Regions from separate parts of the Homo sapiens genome. Here regions 2 and 3 are each linked to region 1. The links are contacts of gene promoters, found by promoter capture Hi-C in blood cells and fetal thymus (Javierre and others, 2016). All regions are on one chromosome and are shown on one strand. The core of a region is centred on a gene start or on the middle of the fragment in contact, and the rest is flanking DNA. Distances in the headings are between cores, read along the strand shown. Region 1 holds the start of LINC03008 (long intergenic non-protein coding RNA 3008). Region 2 overlaps LOC105375508 (a long non-coding RNA gene). Region 3 overlaps LOC105375508 (a long non-coding RNA gene).

The links. Contacts are between HindIII fragments. The CHiCAGO score rates a contact against its expected background, and 5 or more counts as called.
Region 2: a contact is called between a fragment that was not itself captured here and the fragment with the promoter of LINC03008 in region 1, in 2 of 17 cell types (megakaryocytes and erythroblasts). The highest score is 6.1, in megakaryocytes.
Region 3: a fragment that was not itself captured here is called in contact with the fragment with the promoter of LINC03008 in region 1 in 1 of 17 cell types (erythroblasts); the score reaches 5.8 in erythroblasts.

What each region holds. Positions count from the first base shown.
Region 1 is chr7:130,139,665-130,143,340 of GRCh38, reverse strand. LINC03008 (long intergenic non-protein coding RNA 3008) reads right to left here and starts at 1,610. Exons shown (of 2, transcript NR_149034.1): 1 at 1,569-1,610; 2 at 723-1,082. RefSeq lists enhancers at 1,049-1,712, 1,901-2,040, 2,221-2,300, 1,713-2,376. The HindIII fragment of the contact is 6,567 bases long and covers 1-2,024 here.
Region 2 is chr7:130,820,806-130,824,481 of GRCh38, reverse strand. The region is part of intron 3 of LOC105375508 (a long non-coding RNA gene); the gene reads right to left. All of the region lies in intron 2 of LOC105375509 (a long non-coding RNA gene), which reads left to right. It also overlaps the pseudogene LOC347674 and the pseudogene H4P1. Among named protein-coding and RNA genes, the nearest start is that of MIR29A, 54 kb to the left of the region's middle. The HindIII fragment of the contact is 480 bases long and covers 1,504-1,983 here.
Region 3 is chr7:130,750,343-130,754,018 of GRCh38, reverse strand. The region is part of intron 3 of LOC105375508 (a long non-coding RNA gene); the gene reads right to left. Among named protein-coding and RNA genes, the nearest start is that of KLF14, 18 kb to the right of the region's middle. The HindIII fragment of the contact is 1,400 bases long and covers 847-2,246 here.

The DNA of each region.
Region 1 (3,676 bases), core at 361-2,860:
TCTTTGGGAAGAGGACAGGGAGTGGAGAGTCCTGAGCAGAGGGGAAGACTATACAGTTTTAACCAGAGAGGGCAGGAAAGCCCTTGCTGCCTCACTCGCCTCACCCTAGCCCTGGCTCTGCCTCATTGAGAAGACCACATTAAAAAACTGAAGGAGGCCAGGCACACAGCCATGTGGATACTGGAGGAGGAGACCTCCAGAAAGAGGGAGCACGCTTGACCGCTCAAGGAGCAGCAAGGAAGCCACCGTGGCTGGTCGAGAGTGAGCAAAGGCACAGTGGTAGGAGTTGAGGCCAGAGAAGTTTGGACTGTGCGGGCCCTGGAGAGAGCTGGGTAAATGGGACATTTCAGGGTGTTCTGCAGGCAAAAGCAGGCCCTCCCACCCTCAGTTCTGTTCTGTCTCCGGGCAGTCCACAAGCACCTGAGGGCCCACGTGAGGAGAAGAGGCCTGGGTTTTCCGGGCCTGGAAGCTCCACTGCCAGAAGCATTCGCCCCCTGGCCCAGACAAACCAAGGTCAGAAGGCACCTCCACCCAGGTTTCCACAGGCGTCCCTGCTGCTGCTTCACTGGGCTGAAGCTACCCACGTTCACTCAGCTTTGCCAGGGCAGGATGCTTACTCCCTACAACCTCCCTCTGTGCCGTTTTTCTCCTATCCCTGGGCACGCAGGTGAAAGCTAAATGAGGAGAGACCCGCCCCACACCTGAGTGGCCAGGCTGACTCCTGTGGTGGAACGAGTTTTTAATAAAACCAGAAGAGCTTCCCAATTCCACGCCTCGCTGCAGTCTCTTCACCTTGCTCCAGAGGAAAGACCCAGAGTATGGCAGGGCTGCGGTTAGCGAGGGCTTTGGTCAGCAGCTGGAGAGTGCCGTAGTGACATGGTGACAGTCCTCGGCCCCCAGGAGGGGCGGAGGCCACCCCTCTGGGACCCCCAGCCCTAGAATCCCATGCAGGAGTGACTCTGCTGTCCCATCACACTCACAGCTGCAGCAAGGATGCCTTTCCAGCAGTCACACTCCCACGCAGGGGTCAGCCTTCCTCCCAGGGGGAGCAGGGTGGAGCGGGAGCTGGTCCTCCCAGCATACTGCAGGCGGACAACAGTGGCCTGTTTCAGGTGACACCTGTCTTTGGGCCCAGGTCCCACTTCTGTGGTTGTCCCCAGGCTGAGCTGCCCCCTGGAAGGGTTTTCTGGAAAGGACCAGAGAGGTGTGGATTTCGGAATCTCTGAGAGCTCTGGCACCTCTGTTTTCTGCTCCCTGGGTTGAGTGGCCAGAAGAGCCTGTGTGCTTGCATTTTCGGTATGACCCCTGGCCCTTATGTGTCTCTGTGTCCCCAGGCCCCTGCTCAATTCTCCACTTCACCGAGGGTGCCTGACCCCTCTCCTTTTCCCTCCATCCCCCCACTTCTGAACGCACCCCACCGTGTGCATGGGAGGGTCCTTCCTCCCTGTGGCTTTTCCGGGGAGCCTTTTCTTCTCCCTGAAGTCACCCCCGCATATCCCGGAGAGCCACAGCGCCTATCCCCTGGGTTGCCATGGAAACAGCCTTCTTTCCTCTTCCCTCCTGTTTACCTTGGTCAGGGACTGCGGCAAAAACCAGCCCGTCGCTGGAGGAGAGGGAGAGCAGTGGGCGGGGGAGCAGGGAGGGAGCCAACCCGCTCCAAACCAGATCATTCCGGTTCAGAGCGGCTTCCCCTCCGGTCCTAGGAGCCTCTCCGACAAGGCGCGCTGGGCTGCGCAGGGAGGCCCTGGGCCGAGCTGGCCTTAGTGGGGAGGGCCTGAGCCCACCCTGGCCAGCACCCCCTCCCCAGTTCCGTCCGGCCTCCATGCGTCCCTCCTGCCAGTGCTGGCGCAGCGGGGCCTGGGGCGCTGTCCCTGATTGCTGGCTGTTCCCCGCACAGGGGCGCCCTGCTGGGGCGGGGGTGATGGGAGCAGAAGTGTCTCGGCCCCAAAGGTGCTTTCGCCCTCCTGGGACCCCCGGGCACTCTCCTGCGACAGGGATGCTCTGTGTGGCTCTGGCTTAAAGCTTCCCGCTGCGTTTAGAGAAGCCAAACCCTTCGTCCCAGCCCCGGGATAGGTGCGGGGCCGCCTCTTCGCGGGGATTCCCCTGGCTCCCACCGCAAGGCTTCTTCCCCTTGCAGAAGACACCAGAAGCTGGGTTTTGTCCCTGCCCCGAACACTCTGGTCACACTTTCTAGCTCCCCGTGCACACCGGGCGGGAGGCTTTCCTTGTTTCTACGCCACACAGCTCCTATTCCCCCTCCATGGGCCACTGTGGTCATCTTGCTCGTTTGCTGTGGTCTGATCGATCGCCTCCTCCCCAATGGAAACTTCCCGAAGGCAGGGCCCGCTCACGCAGCACCCCAGCACCAATGGCACGTGCCAGATGTTCGGTGAGCGACGGTGGCCTCGAGGATGGGACGCGCGGCGGCGCCGGGCTGCGGGGGCCACCTCCCGGCCGAGTCCCCTCCCCGCTAGCGGGCGGCAGCTTCTTAGTCGTCTGGGTGTACAGACTGAAATCCACGGCTCTTCCTCCCCAGCCATGTGCGCTGCAGGCGGCAAGTCCATGGCCAGCGGGCGGGTAGCCCAGCGCACCGGGCCTTGGGGAGCCGCCCGCAGCACGGACCGCCCTGGCCCCTGGCTTCACCGCCCCTGCGCGGCTGCTCCCAACCCAGAATCCCGGGAAGCCAGGGGTGACTTCACGTCCCCGAAAGCCCTTCTGAAAGAATTTTCTCAGTAACTATCCAGGCCCATGTGCCTGCCGCCGGGTCCCAGGAGGATGAAAGTTCTCATGAACGCGACCTTGCAAGCTTGCAGACTTGGACTCCCTTCTCTGGCCCTTGGCAAATCACTGAATTTGTCTTGTCTTGGCCTGCCAATCTGTGAAACGGGGATAAAACTTCTAGGCCTGCGATTCAATACAGGCTTGCCGAGGAGAAAATGAACTGAAAATGCTTGGCTGACATGGCAGGGGCTGCAGAGGCTGGGCTCTGGGTTAGTGTGTGTGTTTGGGGTCCGGGGTTAGATCCAGTGTAAAGCTGGAGTTCTCGTCCTGGATGCCCTAGTATGCAAGTAGCTCTGAGACACCCCTGTGCCTATTGTTCTTATAAACCGCGTCTTTGTGGGCAGCAAGCCTGTGCAGTGCAGGGTGAGCCCAGGCAGAGGCCGACATCCCGAACCATGACCTGATCTTAGCTGTTTCAGGGTGAGGTTTGGGTAGTAAATAACCCAGGTGCAGGAGATGCCTGGATGGCCTGGATGTATTTTTCTGGGGCTGGGAGAGTAACAAAGTTTGCTCCCTGACAGTGGGGTGGGGATTTTGAACACATCCTAGGCAGTCATGGTGAGAGCCTCCTCCACTCCCAGAACCTTGCGGTTCTAAGTGGCAGGTTCAAGGAGGATAAACTGACCAGTCTGACTCCTCTAAGGTGACACAGGCTGCATGGCAGCTGCTTTCTCTTTTCATGGATGTCATCTGCAATACTCTAAAGCTCCTGGCCTGCTGTGGGGCCCCCAAATAGTAAGTGGCCAGAGCTCCCAGCTGTCTCTGCCTTCTCTTCCCAAGTCCTGGAGCTGGGCTGTGGTGGCTCCTGACCTCCCTGAGTGGTGTTTGGCACCTACCTTCCTGCATGGGCTGCTGAGCTCCCCTGCTGAGCTGTCTGCTGGAGAATCTGAGAAGC
Region 2 (3,676 bases), core at 494-2,993, 680 kb before region 1:
ATAGCAAGCCCTTTACATATGAGTAAAGAGTTGTGGACATTTTTATATATAGAGGCCAATGTCTACTCTGGGCATAGGTGAGTAGAGAAGTGGCCTAGCTATAGATAGAGAAATTTTTCAAAGAACAAAAAAAAAAATCCATTGAATACTTAATAATAGCATGGGCTGGCAAGACGAATTGGAATTTGGAAGAGCTCTAATGCAAACATAAATTATTTAGTCCAACAATTCCCTCTCCACTCTAAGAATTTGCTGCAAAAGTGACAAAGGGGTATCCTGAAGTATCAGTGGGCATGAGGCTAGAAACTAGAGAAAGTTTGTGCAGTCTTGAGTGTTCTGATTCTAAAGCCTAATTGTAGTTGAATCCAAAAGTCATCCAAACCAACTCATGTGGCAACTAATCTCCTTCCAGTTAAATTCTGACAGTATCAAAGGGATGAACCACTTAGTGGCAACAATGCAGGAAGCTGGGGTTAATACTGTAGCCCAATTCCAGTCTTCACATCTTAGTTGGCACTGGACAAACAACCCATTATCCCATAAACCTGAATGGAAGGAAGGATTTGAAAGTTCTGTGAAAACAAAACACAAAATATTATACAGCAGTATCCACTATCATTTATACACAATTTTTGCCTTACGGTAAAATATTGAGACATGGGAAGATGCAAAAAAAATCTGATACATAAGAGAAAGAAATCATCAATAGGAGACCCACAAGATGACCTAGACAGAGGAATTAGCAGACTTATGACTTTAAAACAACTACTATAAATATAGTTAGGAATTTACAAGGAAAGAAAGAAGGAATAGGTGAAGACATGGGAAATACAATATATGAAATGAAAAATTCATTGTGTACCCTTAACATCATATTGGGCACCACAGAAAAAAAGATCAGTGAAATTTGAACACAGGTCATAAAATTTTTGCAAACTGAACCACAAAAAGAAAAAGCATCTGTTTTGTCATGTCTGGCTGAGGCAAAGGTGGAAAAGGACTGGGTAAGGAAGGAACTAAGTGTCACTGCAAGGTCCTACGTATGACAGCCTGCAAGGCATCTATCTGCAAGCCTCCTATCTGGCATCTTGCTTGGTGTGATGGTGTCAAGAGCATTTCTGGCCTCATCTATGAGGAGATCCAGGAGGTTTTGAAGGTGTTTCTGGAGAATGTGATCCAGGATGATGTCACACCAAGCATGCCAAGTGCAAGATGTAACAGCCATGGGCGTAGTCTATGTGTTTAAGTGGCAGGGGTGCACCCTTTATGGCTTTGGTGGCTAAGAATCAAGGTTGAGATTTTGAAAATAATTTTGAATTTTGCTGAAAATCAGATATGCTAAAAAAAGAAAAAACTTCTCAGTACCCAAGTGTCTACATATTTAATTATCTCTACAATTCTTATGTGGAATAAGAAATTTTTATTGATGCCCTTACTATATTTGAGATCATCTATGACAATCTCAGAGTAGAAGTGTTCAGCTATAGAGAATTCAATAAAGCTTCCCTTTTCAAACGTATGCATTGCATTTGGAGTGTGTGTTAAGAAAATTAGAGCCTTAGCAAATCAGATGACCTCTCGGTGAAAGTGAAAGTTATAAAACTAGTGAACAAATTCTAATTGGTTATGTGCTCTCAAAAGACTTCAAGAAATTTCTTGGTTTTGCAGCTGGAGGCATTGAAAATTGAAAGTTACTGCTTTTCCACTTAGTCATATAATAAAGGGATCCTTTCAGCTGCTAGTTTTGAATAATGTCTCACCCAGAGTGATGTTATCTGTGACAGTCACCTGCTTCAAGCTGAACCATCTTATGAATATCAAATAAATAGTCCTCTTGTGCTGAAAACATATTTGTGATTTTAATCATGCTGCTTGGATTGAAATATTTTTTACTGGTTCCTCTGAATTGACAGTGAACCTGTCTATTATAAATGACATACTGTTTTGTTATTTGTTTTGACTTCAATTTATCCACCAAAAGCTTCATTTGTGTATCATCAAAAAAGTTGTATGTTTCAACTGAAAGAAAAAAAGAGAGAAAGATTGAAATAAAAATGTATAAAGAATCACTGATCTGTGGGACAATTTGAAGTGATCTAATATATATAATTCAAGTCCCGGAAGAATAGGAGAGAGAGAATGGAGAAGAAAAAATACTTTAAAAAATAATGACCAACATCTTCCCAATTTGAAGGTGAACAAACCCAAAGCACCACTAAGCTAAGGAAACCCTGAGCAAGATGAACAAAAAGAAAACTATGCTGAGGCACATACATAAATGTCAAACTGCAGAGAACCAAAAATAAAGAGAAAATCTCAAAAGCGGCTGGGGGAAGGGGGAAGGCAGAGAGGGATATATCACAGTACATACAACAATAAGAACTATGGCTGACATCTTACTAGAAACAATGGAAGCAGGCTGGGCACAGTGGCTCATGTCTGTAATCCCAATACTTGGGGAGGCTGAGGTGGGTGAATCACTTGAGGTCAGGAGTTCAAGATCAGTCTGGCCAACATGGCAAAAACCCGTCTCTACTAAAAATAAAAAAATTAGCTGGCCACGGTGGCATGTGCCTGTAATCCCAGCTACTCAGGAGGCTGAGGCATGAGAATGGCTTGAACCTGGGAGGTGGAGGTTGCAGTGAGCCAAGATCGTGCCACTGCTCTCCAGCCTGGGTGACAGAGCTGGAAAAAAAAACAAGAAAGCTGGGCATGGTGGCTCATGCTTGTAATCCCAGCACTTTGGGAGGCCAAGGCGGGCAGATCACGAGGGCAGGAGATCGCGACCATCCTGGCTAACATGGTGAAACCCCGTCTCTACTACAAAATACAAAAAATTAGCCAGGCGTGGTGGCGGGCACCTATAGTCCCAGCTACTCGGGAGGCTGAGGCAGGAGAATGGCATGAACCTGGGAGGCAGAGCTTGCAGTGAGCTGAGATTGTGCCACTGCACTCCAGCCCGGGGGACGGAGCGAGACTCTGTCTCAAAAAAAAAAAAAAAAGAAAAGAAAAGAAAGAAACAATGGAAGCCAAAAAGCAATGGGAAATCTTTAAAATGCTGAAGAAAAAAAAAGTCAACTAGAATTTTAGAAAACATATCCCTTCAAGAAGAAAATAAAAATAAAAATATTTACAAATAAGTAAAATCTGATAGAATTTGTTGCCAGTAGACCTGCACTACAAGAAATGTAAAAGGAAGTACTTCAGGATAAAGGAAATGCAATACCAATTAGTAACAGATCTATAGGAAGAAATTAAGAGTACCAAAAACAGTAAACACATTGTTTAAAATTTACTTGTTTACTTAACTTCTTTAAAGGAAAACTGACTAAAATAAAAATAAGAATACATTGTGTGGTTTACAAGATATGGAAAGTTTACATACAGATATGTTGTACTTAACAATAGCAAAAAAATAAAAACAGGATGGAGGTTATTAGAAATATAACATTATGGGCCGGGCGCAGTGGCTCACACCTGTAATCCCAGCACTTTGTGGGGCCGAGGCAGATCACAAGGTCAGGAGTTCCAGACCAGCCTGGCCAATATGGTGAAACCCTGTCTCTACTAAAAATACAAAAATTAGCAGGGTGTGGTGGTAGACACCAGTAGTCCCAGCTACTCAGGAGGCTGAGGCAGGAGAATCACTTGAACCCAGGAGGCGGAGGTTGTAGTG
Region 3 (3,676 bases), core at 297-2,796, 610 kb before region 1:
CACCTGAGGTCAGAAGTTCAAGACCAGCCCGGCCAACATGGTGAAACCCCATCTCTACTAAAAATACAAAAATTAGCCAGGCGTGGTGGTGGGTGCTTATAATTCCAGCTACTCAGGAGGCTGAGGCACAAGAATTGCTTGAACCTTGGAGACAGAGATTGTAGTGAGTCAAGATCGTCCCACTGTACTTCAGCCTGGGCAACAGGACAAGACTCCATCTCCAAAAAAAAAAAAAAAAAAAAAAAAGGAAAGAAAAGAAAAGAAAAAGCTAACTCTAAGGTCCCACCCCAGACCTACCCGGTCAGAAATCTGGGGTGGGAGATTGGCAGGGAGACAAGCCATCAGGATTTTAACACGCCCTATAGATGCTTCTGGTGCAGGCTCAGCTTTAAGAACCACCGTTCTAGGGGGTTTGCCCTAAGTCACAGATAGTAAAGGGCAAGAGAAGATTTCCAGTCTGCATATCCTTTCTGTCTCATAGAAATCTACTGAAATTTAGTAAAGTTTCCTCCCTTTACACACTAAGTAGTAACATTTCATTCCAATTAACCCTGCATCTGTGTCCCAGAGTAACAGATTCCTACTGTAGTTTTGGCACTAGTCTTCCCCCAATTATTTCCCCTGAGATGTTATTGTCAGTGTCCAATCTATTCCTCAACTACTCTTGTCAGTAACTTAAATTCCCCTGTCCCTACTGGTACCAGTCTAGGATACATTTTAAATTCCAGTGTTCCAAGGTAATTCAGAGAAGGACAGAGATTAATGTGGCTCACCAAACCTAGGAACATTTTCTGGCCTCGTGATGGCACCCAGCATCAGAGAAGAGGCAATGTACTACCTCAAGCTTAGCTGCAGGGAGAACATGTTGACCACGGCTTATATAAATCAAGACCCCCTTCTTCCATAGCAGTATTTTCTCAATTTTCTCTTAATTTATTCCCTTCTCAGCACCACAACAACCCAATCCCCATGAGATGCTATGAAGATGTTATCAGGGGAGACAGAAAGCCTTCAATAGGAGCTCCAGGATCAATGCAGATATCTGTCCCCAGGGGATCATCTTGTTCTCATTGGATTTGGCCACCTTGCAACACACAGCACCTTCCCCTGATCACCTAAATGCTTCCAACACAATCTATGGCCTCCTAATGTCTCGACACCTCCCATGGGATATCCCACAACATCAATAATGGAACCAAATACAGAAATCACATAAACCTTACGGGAAGAGTGATAGCTCACAATGGTACACACTAGACTCAGGAAAAAGGATTATGAGCTATTACCAGGCAGTCCTGTTACGGAGCCAAGAGATATAGGAAGTGAGAAGGCTGGAAAACAAAGGGGAAAAGACATAGCAGCTAAAGCTGGTCTGAAGGCAGAGCTGTCCAGCCACCAGGCTGAACACCCATTATTATGTCCTCACACGTGACCGAGTGTTGTTTCAGGACTGCTTCGCTATGTCTGTCCTCCCTCCGCATGGCACCCTGATACTGTGAGCCTTCCAGTCGTTTTTCTTTTTAATAAAATGTTAAAACGAAATTGAGATCATGTCATACTTACAGTATACAACCTTGTTTTTGCTTTATAGTTTGTAACATTTGCAGGTCATTATATGTTTTCTACATTAGCAATTTCCTGGCTGTGTAGAGGTTCACTGTAAATAAATAGGTATCATAATATAATTCACCAGTTCCCTATTTGGAAGCATTTATATTGACTGTATTGCCTTCATAGTACATTATATCACTTATTCATATAAAAATAATTATATTTGTTCCATTTGATATTCTCATCCTGAATTCTATTTCATGTGATTTTAATATTAGCATGCATGGATGGGTTCTTTGGGTTGCATTTGCCTCTGATATTCTTGCCCATCTCATTACTTTTCTACCTTCTCTGTCAATTTCATTTTGCAGTTTCTCCTTTTGTAAACAGCTTACGACTAAATTGTATTTTTTTTACTCAATCTGAGTCTTTTGTGTTTTGAAAGATATTTTTAAGCCACATCTGTCATGACAAAAGTTATACTTGGTGTTTGTTCTGTCACTTTATTTTATGGTTTCTATTTGTAATACTTCCTGTTTCTTATTTCTTTTTTTACTGTAGTAATCAAATTTATTCTTTCTTCTCATTCATGATTTGGGAATTATATACCTTTTTGTTTTCTACTTGGGCTTAGTTAATTTAAAGTGTATAAATATGTTTGAATTATGCCTCTTTATTTCACTAACTTAAAAGCTTAGTAAAATACCAAGATATTTGTTAAGCAAAATAAAACAAAACATAAACACATTTGCATTTTTAAAGTTCCAGTAAGACCAAATTTTGTTGAGTTAAATGTGTACCTTTCCTTCATGATCCCCTACTTTAAGAACCACTGCCTGAGCTTTGATGTGTATCTACCCAGACCTTCTATGTGTGTGTATGTGTGTGTGCATGTAGATTTGTAATTTTTTTTAAATAGGACAATATGCATGTTTTCTTATTTGCTTTTTTCACTTAATAATGCATTTCATTATAAATAAATTTACACAGTACTCTATCAGTACTCACATATGTGTCATCCATCCTGTCACAGCAGCCCACCCTACGGACTCACTTCATTTATGTAACCATTCCTCTGCTGATAGATGTTTAATTTGGTCCCTATTTTTGACTACTATGATGTTCTAATAAAAAATCTTTTATATATATATTTGTGCACCTATGTGAGTATTTTATAGTATTAATACCTAGAAGTGAAATTGCTGAGTCAAAAAGTATGCACGTTTGGGTTTTTGATAGCTACTACCAAATTATCTTTCAAAAAGTTGTACAGATGTATACACTCCCAAAAACTCTACGGGACTGTTGCCTCACACCCTTCCTGGTGTTGGGTTTTAACAATCTTTAAAAGCTTTGCCTATCTGATGGTTGAAAATGATATTGTATCATTGCTTTCATTCACAGCTCACTGATGGAAAGTGAGGTTGTGAATCTCTTCCGAGCTACTGACTCTTTGGTTTCTGTGAACTCCCTATACTTACCCTGTACCTCATGTACTTTGCCCACTTGTCTTTTATAGTATTTACCTTTTTACATGTTAATTTGTAGGCACCCTTTGCATTATGGATGTTAGTCCTTTGTCTGTAATATTTGCTGAATATATATATTCACAAGCCGATGGCCTAATTTTTTGTTTAGGGTGACTTTTGTCCTATAAAAGTTTAATATTTTGTAGTCATCAGATCTGTAAGTCTTTTCCTTCACAGCGTCTGAGTTTTCACACCTTCCTATCCTACTGTGCAATTACCAAGATAGTCTACATTTTTTCACAGTAATTTTTAAATTCACATTTTGAAATTCATAAACAGCAAAATTCTCTCTTTGTGTACCACTCTATGAGTTTTTAACAAATTTATACAGTCATGTAAGCACCCCCTCAAACAAGATACTGAACAGTTCTGTAACCCTCCAAAATCATTCCTGCCCTTCCTCCCACAGCCAGCCTGTGGCAACGACGGATCTGTTTTTAAGGGATTCCTCATACAAATGGAACCATAAAGTAGGTAGCCTTTATCTGACTTTTTCTCCTGGCATAATGCAGATGAAGTCCATCCACACTGCTGTGTGTCTCACAGTCTGCCCCTTTTCATTGCTGATTATCATTCCATTGCATGAAGTGCCAGTG